Linked DNA regions of Homo sapiens: regions 2, 3 and 4 are each linked to region 1. Evidence: promoter capture Hi-C in human tissues and cell types (Jung and others, 2019). All regions are on one chromosome and are shown on one strand. Each heading gives the region's core, a stretch centred on a gene start or on the middle of the fragment in contact. The rest is flanking DNA. Distances are from core to core; before and after follow the strand shown. Region 1 holds the start of SRL (sarcalumenin). Region 2 overlaps CREBBP (CREB binding lysine acetyltransferase). Region 3 has its middle 30 kb from the start of CREBBP. Region 4 overlaps CREBBP (CREB binding lysine acetyltransferase).

Region 1 (2,818 bases), core at 314-2,813:
GGCCAGGGGCAGACGCACGCTGTGGGACCCAGGAAGGAAAGACAGCAGAGAGAAGGGACCTTTGCACAAGCACCTGCCTGCGTCCTTTCCCCACGACAAGAGCCCCCAGCGAGGCCTGCAGAACATTCCAGATGACCAGTTCCCTCGGTGGGAGGAAAGATAAAGGATGTCCCTAAAAGGCCAAAAATTCCTGGGGCCCAGTGTGTAGCAGCCCAGCAGCTGGGGCTGGGGGGCAGCACAGGAGCGGCCACGAAGGGAGAGGGTGGCAGCGGCTTGGGGCTCCGGATCCAATTACGCGGCTGTTTCCATACTTAGCCGCCTGACAGCCGCCTGGAATACTCAGCACTCAAGCCGCTGCAGCCCTGCAGAGCCCAAATTAACTCAAGGACAGACAAGGGCAGGGCCCAGCAGCACATGCAGTGGCTGGAGCCCCCCACCTTACATCTTGAGTCCCCGAGAAATAGCTTTTGTTCCCACCCACTGCCTGCTCTCCCTGCAGGGACTGTGCCCCTGCAACCCCCTATTCAACCTCAAAGACCTGAGAGGCTGGACTCTGGGCCTCTCCAGTCCCAGGTACGGACCTAGGCTCAGAGCCCAGCTTGGGGGAAGACTGCCGAGTCATGAAAAGACTCGGTGGGCAGTCCGGATCCTAGGGGGATCCCCGGAGCACCTCCCTAAAAGCATTCCCTCGGGGAACCTGGCCTCAGGAACCTTAGGAACAAGAGAGGTGGCAAAACAATCTGGCATCTCCTCCATAGCCTATAGATAACCCCCATGCTGCAACCCAAGCCACCACCTCTGCTACCCAAAGTGCTGAGATGTCAAAGGGAAGCCTCAGCACACAGAGCCAAGCCCCTTTTCTGATGGAAGCCCCCACCCCGAGCAGAGGCTCTACTCCAGAACGGGCCCCGTTCCTCTTCTGAATTGCATCCAATGCTGTTTCCAGCCCAACCGCCAACTCTATTTCCGATCTTATCCCAAACCAATTCCAATTCTATCTCACTGCTCCCAAAACGGTCCCCACCTTTGCCCACTGTATCCCCTTCTGTCCACGCAAACCCAGTTCTCTTACCCGAGTGGGGCCTCCGCCTTATATCCCACCAGGTGGGAGGGTCACCTCAACGACCTCCAGCTCCCAGACTGTGCTATTTTGTCCGTCTCAGAGGCTCCCCCGTCTCGACTTTGAGGGCCCTCTTTCCCACATCTACTGGCCAGACTCCTCTCTGACCCTGGCTCACAGCTCAGCTCTGTTTGCCGTTCCCACTTCCTCTGGCCTTCCTGAGGGCCCCGCAACTGTGCTGCTATTCTCCAGCACCCAGCTCTTTCTCTGAGGCCCCAGGCCCGGGGAAAAGAGAAGGGTAAGAAGACACCAGCCAAGAGCCAGGGTTTGCCATCAGCCCCGACCCCCTACCCAACCCATGGTAGACAGAAAACCTTGGAGGAAGCGTGGGGGACCAGTCTGGGCTGGGTCATGCTGGGAGGGGCCCTACCTGCTTGTCCTGAGAACAGGAGCGAGGCCAGGAGGCAGCCGAGCAGGACCAGCGCCCTCATGGTGACTGCCAAGAGAGCCCAGCTGCTCCTCGCCTCTATTTATACGGCCGGCCGTGGCAGCAGGCGGTGGAGGGGGGAGAGGGGTCACACAGTCACCAGGGCAACTAGGAGGGTGTGATGGGGAAGAAGCCCGGACCCCAGAAGGCTGTGCAGAGGCTCAGGCTGCGCCACTGCTGTCCCAGCTGCCAGGCCCCAGAAGGCAGGGCCGTGGCTGGATTCTCTTCCCCCGAACCCCTGCAGCCCTGGGATCACATGACATGGGTCACAGGGCGTGGGTGACAGGCATAAAATGGAGCATCCCTTGGGCTCAGGCGGTGGAGCTGGGAAGCTGAGTCTTCCCAGAACTTGCAATAACTTGACCTGAAGTCTCGGCAGGTTAAGGACCTTGACACGCCTGCACTGGAAGGAGGAAGTTGTAAGGCCACGCAAAAGAAATCCTATTTAACAGCCACTGATCCACATGCTAGAGAGTGGTCAGCTACGGCAAACCCGCAACATGTGACCTCTGAGGTCCAAGGCTGCAGCCCTGGAACAACCTTCCCAGCCTCTGGAAGAGAGAGAGCACAGACCAGAGGGAGAGGGGCACACTGAGACACAAGCTGAGGCTACGGTGTAAACTGGAGGATGGAGCAACAGATATCCATTTCCAATGGCCCAGGGGTTCCAGAACATTCAGTCACCTCTGCAAAGTGCTTTTTTGTTTATTTGTTTTTGATAGAGGATCTCGCTCTGTCACCCAGGCTGGACTGCAGTGGCACAATCATCACTCACTGCACTCGACCTCCCAGGCTCAATCAATCCTCCCAACTCAGCCTCCCAAGTAGCTAGGACAGTAGTGCCACCATGCTGTACTAATTTTTTAAAATTTTTTGTAGATGGCCCAGAGAGCCAGTTGTAAGAAGCCAAGGGAAAGCAGACACTTGCTTGTCTGGTCGGGGTACAGTGTCACTGTGTGGGGAAGAGGTAGAAGCCAGCCTTGGAGGAAAGGAACTAAATCAGGGCCAGGCACAGTGGCTCACACCTGTAATCCCAGCACTTTGGGAGGCCGAGGCGGGTGGATCACCTGAGGTCAGGAGATTGAGACCAGCCTGGCCAACATGGTGAAACCCCATCTCCACTAAAAATACAAAAATTACTGGGTGTGGTGGCGGGTGCCTATAATCCCAGCTCCTCAGGAGGCTGAGGCAGGAGAATCACTTGATCCCAGGAGGCGAAGGTTGCCATGAGCCAAGATTGCACCACTGACTCTAGCCTGGGCAACAGAGCG
Region 2 (2,700 bases), core at 18-2,517, 410 kb before region 1:
ATGAATAAGACAAGGGAAGAACACTGTCATTGGTTTTATTAAACATTGTGCTGGCCAGGCACGGTGGCTCACACCTATAATCCCAGCACTTTGGGAGGCTGAGATGGGCGGACCACCTGAGGTGAGGAGTTCGAGACCAGCCTGACCAACATGGTGAAACCCCGTATCTACTAAAAATACAAAATTAGCTGGGTGTGGTGGCGCAAGCCTGTAGTCCCAGTTACTCAGGAGGCTGAGGCACGAGAATCGCTTGAGCCCCAGAGGTGGAGGTTGCAGTGAGGCGAGATAGCACCACTGCACTTCAGCTTGGGCTACAGAGTGAGAGTCCATCTCAAAAGAAACCCAAAACAAACAAACAAAACATTGTACTAGAGGTCCTAGGCAGAACATTAAAGCCAGAAAAATGAATAAAATGCATACAGATGAAAAAGGAAGAAGCAAGCTATTTTTATTCTCAGACAACATGTCCCAGAAAATTCTAAGACATCTTATAGAATTAATAAGTGAGTTTAGCAGGGTTACAAGATACAACATTAATACAGAAACATTTATTATACTTCTCCATACTAGCAACAAATAATGGTGTAAAACCTAGGAATTAAACAGAAATGAAAACGAGAAACTAAGCAACCTGACTTTAATACTTACTGTAAAGCTAAAGTACAACTATGAAAGTTTCATCTATGAAACTTTTGTGATTGATAAAATTGACTTCATTAAAATTAAAACTGCCCCTTCAAAGATAATGTCAAGAGAATGAGAAGACAATCCACAGACTGGGAGAAAATATGTGCAAGAAACACATCTGATAAAGATCTATTTACAAAAATATATAAAGAACTCTCAAAACTCAACAATAACAACCTGTTTAAAAAATGGGCCAAAGACCTTAACATACACCTCATCAAAGAAGACACACAGATGGCAAATAAGCGTATGAAAAGATGACCCACATCTTATCACAGAAATGCAAATGACAACAATGGGATACCACTATTTGCCTATTAGAACAGCCAAATCCAGAACACTGTCAACACGAAATGCTGGCGAGGATGTAGTGCAACAGGAACTCTCATTCATCACTGGTGGGAATGTAAAATGATATAGACACTTTGGAAGACATTTTTGCAGTTTCTCACAAAACTAAGCATACTCTTACCATATGATCCAGCAATTGTGCTCACTGGTATTTACCCAAAACAGGTAAAAACTTAAACCTGCACATGGATGTATATGGCAGCTTTATTCATAATTGCCAAAACTTGGAAGCAACCATGAAGTCTTTCAGTAGGTAAAGGGATAATTGCCATGAAAAGACCCAGAGGAACCTTAAATACATATTATTAAATGAATGAGGCCAATGAGAAAAGGCTACACACTGTGTGACTGTAACTTTACAAAAAGGCAAAACTATGGAGACAATCAGTGGTTGCCAGGGTTTTGGGAAGGAGAGAGGGATGAAGAGGTGAAACACAGACGGCTTTTAGGGCAGTGAAAATACTCTGCATGACACTACAATGATGCACATCATTATACATTTGTCCAAGTCCACAGAATGTACAACACCAAGAGTGAACCCTAGTGTAAACTACAGACTTCGGATTATGATGTATCAATATAGGTTTATTGATTGTGACAAACTGTACCATTCTAGACAGCGGAGTTGGGGAGGATGTTGAAAATGGAGGAGACTATGAACTAGGAGAACAGGGAATAGATGGAAAATCTCTGTACCTTCATTTCATTGTGAAGCTCAAACTACTCTAAAAAAACCCAAAATCTTTAAAAGCTTTTCTTGGGCCAGGCGCAGTGGCTCACGCCTGTAATCCCAGCACTTTGGGAGGCCGAGGCGGGCGGATCACGAGGTCACGAGATCGAGACCATCCTGGCTAACACGGTGAAACCCCGTCTCTAGTAAAAATACAAAAAATTGGCCGGGCATGGTGGCAGGCGCCTGTAGTTCCAGCTACTAAGGGAGGCTGAGGCAGGAGAATGGCATGAACCCGGGAGGTGGAGGTTGCAGTGAGCCGAGACCACGCCACTGCACTCCGGCCTGGGCAAAAGAGCGAGACTCCTTCTCCAAAACAAAACAAAACAAACAAACAAAAAAGCTTTTCTTAAAAAACAAACTAAATGAATAGAAAAATAGATCAATAGAACAGACTAGAACAAAGGTACAGGGATTTTTTTTTTCTATGAAGGGCCAGTTAATAAATAATTTAGTCTTTGCAGATGACCTGCGGTTTCCATCCCAGATTGTTTTCTTTTTAAACAATCCTTAAAAAATATAAAACCCATCCTTACGTGGCAAGCCATATAAAAACAGGTCATGGGGCTGGATGTGGTTCATGGGCTATAGTTTGCCCTTAGACTACAGAGTCCAGAAACAGACACCTCCTTGTACAGTGAATTTCGTTGCTAGTTATTTATCTAAGAGAAATGAAAACTTCTATGCCCACAAAAAAAGCTGTACAAAAATGCTCACAGAAGATTTCTTCTTTTTTTTTTTTTTTTTTTTTGAGACGGAGTCTTGCTCTGTCGCCTAGGCTGGAGTGCAGTAGTGGGATCTCGGGTCACTGCAAGCTCCGCCTCCCAGGTTCACGCCATTCTCCTGCCTCAGCCTCCCGAGTAGCTGGGACTACAGGCGCCTGGCACCACACCTGGCTGATTTTTTGTATTTTTAGTAGAGATGGGGGTTTC
Region 3 (2,740 bases), core at 102-2,601, 330 kb before region 1:
TTTGAACTCCTGACCTCAGGTGATCCACCCACCCCAGCCTTCCAAATTGCTGGGATTATAGGTGTGAGCCACTGTGCCTGGCCGCCTTGTATTCTTTTTTGCAGCTGCCAAAACAAATGACCACAAACTGGGTGGCTTAATCCACAGAAATTTATTCTTATACAGTTCTGGAGGGCTGAGGTCCAAAATCAAGGTGTGAGCAGGCCACGCCGCCTGCAGAGGCTCTAGAGGAGGGTCTGTCCTGCCTCTCCCAGCTCCAGGCCTTCCTGGGCTTGTGGCTGCATCTCTCCAGTCTGCCTCCGTCTTCACATGGCCTTCTCCTCGGAGTCTCTGTATCTGTCCTTCTCTTCTAAGGACTTGTCATAGGGCCCACTGTAATCCAGGATGATCTCATCGCGAGAGCCTCAGCTTAATCACATCTGCAAAGATCCTTACTCCAATAGGATCGCATCCTGGAGGTTCCAGGTGGACGTATCTTTTAGGGGAGGCCGCAACTGAGCCCTCGGCCGCAGTCCAGGCTTCTGTTTCTATGGCAACACTAAGAGCAACCGGTGAGCTCCAGGAAGGGCGGGGTCTTGGTTGCATTTGTCTCTGGGCCTCCAGGAGTTCCTCAGAAAGGGTGGCAACATGAATAGTCCCATCTGCCACCGCCGTGAACTGTCCTCTCTTGATGGTGCTGAGAGCAACATGCAGTGTGCAGGGAAGACGCAGACCCCACCCCCACACCAGCACCCCCAGTGCTGCAGCCAAAGGAGTTTCCAGCTCGGCCCTGCCCCTCTAGGGTGAGCAGGTGAGCAGGCCAGCTTAGGAGAGAAAGGAGGCCTGATGGCTTGGTTGGATGTCTTTTGAAACTTTTCTTTTTTTAAGACAGAGTCTTGCTCTCTTGCTCAGGCTGGATTGTAGTGGCTCAATCACGGCTCACTGAAGCTTCAACCTTCTAGGCTCAAGCAATCCTCCCACATCAGCCTCCTAGTGGCTGGGACTAGAGGCATGCACCACCACATCTGGCTAATTAAAAACAAACAAACAAACAAACAAACAAACAAAAAAACCCTGTAGAGATGGGGTCTCACTGTGATGCCCAGGCTGGTCTCAAACTCCTGGGCTCAAGTGATCCTCCAGCCTTGACCTCCCAAAGCACTGGGATTACAGTTGTGAGCTACCACATCTGGCGGTCTTTTGAAACTTTCTACCGAGGATAAAGAGTAACTATTTTCCACCAGGGAAGCTGTCAAGGTTGAAGTTTTAAGGGCTTCTGTGTGGGCCAAGCCAGTCACAGGTACCTTCCCAGGAATGTAGGGCCCTGAGATATCAACTGGGAGACAACATGTATGAGTCAGTATTCTCCAGAGAAACAGAGCCAATGGGATGTGTATAGATACACAGAAAGAGGTTGAGTATGAGGAACTGGCTCACATGGTTACGGAGGCAGAGAAGTCCCAAGATTTTCCATCTGCACGCTGGAGGTGTGGTTCCAATCCAAACTCAAATGACTGGGAATTGCGGGGCCCATGGGTTAAGTCCTTGTCTGAGTCCAAAGGCCTGAGAACCAGAAGCGCCAATGTCAGAGAGCAGGAAAAGAAGGATGTCCCAGTTGGAGCCGAAAGAATTCACCCCTCCTCAGCCTTTTTGTGCTATTCAGGATTGTACCTGCCCACCTGCATTGGTGAGGGTGATCTTCTATATTGAGTCTGCTCCAATTCAAATGCTAAGCTCTGCCGGACTCAGTGGCTCACACCTGTAATCCCAGCCCTTTGGGAGGCGGAGTTGGGCAGATCACTTGAGGCCAGGAGTTTGAGACCAGTCCAGCCGACATGGTGAAACTCCATTTCTACTAAAAATACAAAAATTAGGTGGGCATGGTGGCATGTGCCTGTGGTCCAGCTATCCAGGAGGCTGAGGCACAAGAATCACTTGAGCCTGGGAGGCAGAGGTTGCAGCGAGATGAGATTGTGCCACTGCACTCCAGCCTGGGTGACAGAGCAAGACTCTGTCTCAAAAAAAAAAAAAAAAAAAACATTTAGCTGGATGTGATGGCTCACACTTGTAGTCCCAGCTACTTGGGAGGCTGAAGTTGGAGGATCACTTGAGCTCGGGAGGTCGAGGCTGCAGTGAGCTGTGATTGCATCACTGCACTCAAGCCTCGGCAACAGATCAAGACTCTGTCTCTCAAGTCAAATCAGGCTGGGTGCGGCGGCTCATGCCTGTAATCCCAGCACTTTGGGAGGTGGAGGTGGGCAGATCACCTCAGGTCAGGAGTTCAAGACCAGCCTGGCCAACATGGTGAAACCCCATCTCTCCAAAAATACAAAACTTAGCTGGACGTGGTGCTGAGTGCCTATAATCCCAACTACTTGGGAGGCTGAAGCAGGAGAATCACTTGAACCCAGGAGGGGGAGGTTACAGTGAGCCAAGATCACACATGTGACAGAGCAAGATTCCGTCTCAAAAAACAAAAGTCAAACCAAATCAAATCAAAAGGCAGCAACTGAGAAAGACATTCATCTTCAAGGAAGATGCAGGTGGCTGCTGAGAGAGAGGCGGGTTTCGGCACGTGGCCATGTGTGCCTACTCATGGAAGTTCCCCAGAAGACCTTTGTTCGTGGAAGTGATGAGGCTGTGATTCCATTTGTGTGGCGCTTTCTCTCTTTGCCCCATGCCCCCCTCTCCCCTCTGTGATGTCCATGGGCAACGGGGGGCCTTGGAAGAACCTGGGAATGAGGCTGAGTCCCAGCCTGGA
Region 4 (2,905 bases), core at 181-2,680, 380 kb before region 1:
CCTGGAAATGCAGCCAAGTCTATTTTTATTTGGTGCACTTAGCAGTCACAGGGAAGTGCCATTCCCAGACAGCCAAGACAACGTTAGTTTCCTCAACATGGTTTGCGTGCTGCTTCCCTCAGCCCTGAAGGGTGGGGACAAGGGTGGAATGGAAGGTGCCTGTCATAGCAGCCAGCTGCCACCAGAACACAGTAATGACCCAGCAGCCCCTGCACGTTAGCCCAATCATCTGGGACAGGGGAGCAAAAACGGGTTGTTTACCACCACCACAGCTGAGAGGGGCACCAGACCCCGGAGAGGTGCTACAGTCAGCTGCCTATCCACCCTGCTTACAGGGAGAGGATTCTCCAGCCAAGAACAGTCCTGGAGGAAGAAGAATGTGGGGGCTGAGCTAGGAGCTAGCCTTTGCAGAAGCAGCCCCAGACCCCAGATTCCCAGCCACCTCAGATTCCCCAGCCATATTGTAAGAACAAGCAAACAGACATCCAGAGACCAGGTCCTTTGCCCCAAATGCTGTGAGATGTAGCTGGCAGGCGGCAACAAGAAGTCAAGAAAGGGGGAAAGAGCATATTCCAGACGTGAAAGCAGACTTGGAAGTGCCAGTCCATGTACAACGCGTGGAGGCGTGTGGGCTATTTGAGAGCCACAAACAGAAAATGAATGCCTTAAGTCCAAAAAGTATGCCAGTACCAGGTATGTTGGCTCACACCTATAATCCTGGCACTTTGGGAAGCCGAGGCAGGGGGACTGCTTGGGTCCAGTAGTTCAAGACCAGCCTGGGCAACATAGCGAAACCCGGTCTCTACAAAAAAAAGTACAAAAATTAGCCAGGCATGGTGGCACATGCCCATAGTCCTAGCTGCTCAGGAGGCTGAGGTGGGAGGACTGCTTGAGCCCAGGAGATGGAGGCTACAGTGAGTCAAGATCACGTCACTGCACTCCATCCTGGGTGACAGAGTGAGACCCTGACTCAAAATAATAATAAAAAGGTACACCATAAAATGAGAGAATTCAGAAACAACTGAGAAGCACAACATGATGGAGAATCACAAGCTGAAGAACAACCTTAGTGTTACTCATCATAGACTATGCTGATAAAGAATATCCGTGGCTGGGCATGGTGGTTCACACCTGTAATCCCAGCACTGTGGGAGGCCAAGGCAGGCAGGTCACCTGAGGTCAGGCGTTCGAGGCCAGCCTGGCCAACATGGCAAAACCCCTCCTTTACTAAAAATACAAAAATTAGCGGGGCATGGTAGTGCATGCCTGTAATCCCAGGAGGCTGAGGCACCAGAATCACTTGAATCTGAGAGGTGGAGGCTGCAGTGAGCCAAGATCGTGCCAATGCACTCCAGCCTGGGCGACAAAGCAAGACTCTGTCTCAAAAAAAAAAAGAATATCTGCAACACATCTAGCAATGTATACCTGGAGAATATATGTGCTGCCTTTCACATTTTAAGACTCTACCAACACACAGGCTCTTGAAGGAAAATTTGCTATGATCAAAACTATAAATGCATATGCCTTTTAACCACTAATTCTATTTCTATGAATCTGTTCCATAGATTTGCCTGTCCGCATAACTTTACAAGGCTATTCATTAAAGCACTGTTTGTGAGAAGACAAGACTGGAAATAACCTAAATGTCCACCAGTGGGGAGAGGATTAAAGCAATTATGGCACAGGTCACATAATGGAATGGTAGACAACTGTAAGAAGACAATAAACGTATGCAGCTGTGTGTACACTATGCTACCTCAGTTAAGAAGAAAAAGGCAGGAAGGGGGAAGAGAGAACTAAGAGTCAACAGCGTCTGCCTGAATACAGATAAACCCTGGAAGACAGCACTACTTCCAGTGGTTACCTGGGAGGAGCTAGGTGGAGGGAGGCTCTCTCTACAGGTTTTGTCCTCTGAGTTTTCTGAGCCATGTGAATGAACTACTAGTTTAAGTAATTAAAGGAACTAATTTTTTTTTTTTTTGAGATGGAGTCTTGATCTGTCGCCCAGGCTGGAATGTAGTGGCGCGACCTCAGCTCACTGCAACCTCCACCTTCTGGGTTCAAGCAATTCTCCTGCCTCAGCCTCCTGAGTGGCTGGGACTACAGGTGCACGCCATCACACCCGGCTAATTTTTGTATTTTAGTAGAGACGGGGTTTCACCATGTTGGCCAGGACGGTCTCGATATCCTGACCTCATGATCCATCAACTCAGCCTTCCAAAGTGCAGGGATTACAGGCGTGAGCCCACCGCGCCCGGCCAAGAAACTGATTTTTTTTTAAGGCACCCCCACTGGGGATATACTGGCCCAGGTGATTAACTTCAGCACCAGGTGGTAACACCTGGAATGGTTCCCAGTGCTCCAGTTTCCAGTTAGGGTCCTTATGATTTGAGGATAAAATGTGAAATGGGTTCACTATTAGTTCAAAATATATTTAGTGTACAAATAAGCTTAAAAGGCTAGAAAAGAAAAGGGCACTTTAAAGAAGAACTTTTCGAAAGTATTTTTTTCTAAAGGGATGTGACAATCGACATGTAACATTTTGTACCCAACGCTCACACAGGGAAATCTGACATTATTTCAAAATACTCAAAAATTAGTTGGCTGTCATGTCTTGTGGCTTCTAGCAAATCAATGAAGAAACCTCTAATATAAAGATGATGTTAAAAATGGAGCTTGTGACAAAGCAAGTGATGATCAGACGCCACACTAAAACACAATCCATTTTCCTATCTCTGGATGGCGCCTCTTAGGGGTAATTTGTACTTTGTTCAAATAATTCTCATTAGAGGTCTAAAGGTTTTGCAACAGGAATTAACTAAAACTTTGCTTCTCACCATTTAACAGATTCTCTTAATCACAAATATAAAAATAAAACAATACAAAAACATATATACCCCCAAAA

What was found. The method cuts DNA at HindIII sites, captures the fragments that hold promoters and counts their contacts. A contact is called where the count stands out against the background at its distance.
Region 2: a contact is called between a fragment that was not itself captured here and the fragment with the promoter of SRL in region 1, in 2 of the 25 tissues and cell types used here (H1 embryonic stem cells and IMR-90 fibroblasts).
Region 3: a fragment that was not itself captured here is called in contact with the fragment with the promoter of SRL in region 1 in 1 of the 25 tissues and cell types used here (lymphoblastoid cells).
Region 4: a fragment that was not itself captured here is called in contact with the fragment with the promoter of SRL in region 1 in 1 of the 25 tissues and cell types used here (mesendoderm cells).

What each region holds. Positions count from the first base shown.
Region 1 is chr16:4,240,517-4,243,334 of GRCh38, forward strand. It overlaps SRL (sarcalumenin), which reads right to left and starts at 1,564. Exons shown (of 6, transcript NM_001098814.2): 1 at 1,491-1,564. The coding sequence starts at 1,551. The HindIII fragment of the contact is 19,223 bases long and covers 1-2,818 here.
Region 2 is chr16:3,833,079-3,835,778 of GRCh38, forward strand. The region is part of intron 2 of CREBBP (CREB binding lysine acetyltransferase); the gene reads right to left. Among named protein-coding and RNA genes, the nearest start is that of CREBBP, 46 kb to the right of the region's middle. The HindIII fragment of the contact is 4,169 bases long and covers 1-2,700 here.
Region 3 is chr16:3,909,750-3,912,489 of GRCh38, forward strand. No RefSeq gene overlaps it. Among named protein-coding and RNA genes, the nearest start is that of CREBBP, 30 kb to the left of the region's middle. The HindIII fragment of the contact is 3,545 bases long and covers 1-2,740 here.
Region 4 is chr16:3,863,676-3,866,580 of GRCh38, forward strand. All of the region lies in intron 1 of CREBBP (CREB binding lysine acetyltransferase), which reads right to left. Among named protein-coding and RNA genes, the nearest start is that of CREBBP, 16 kb to the right of the region's middle. The HindIII fragment of the contact is 4,434 bases long and covers 1-2,905 here.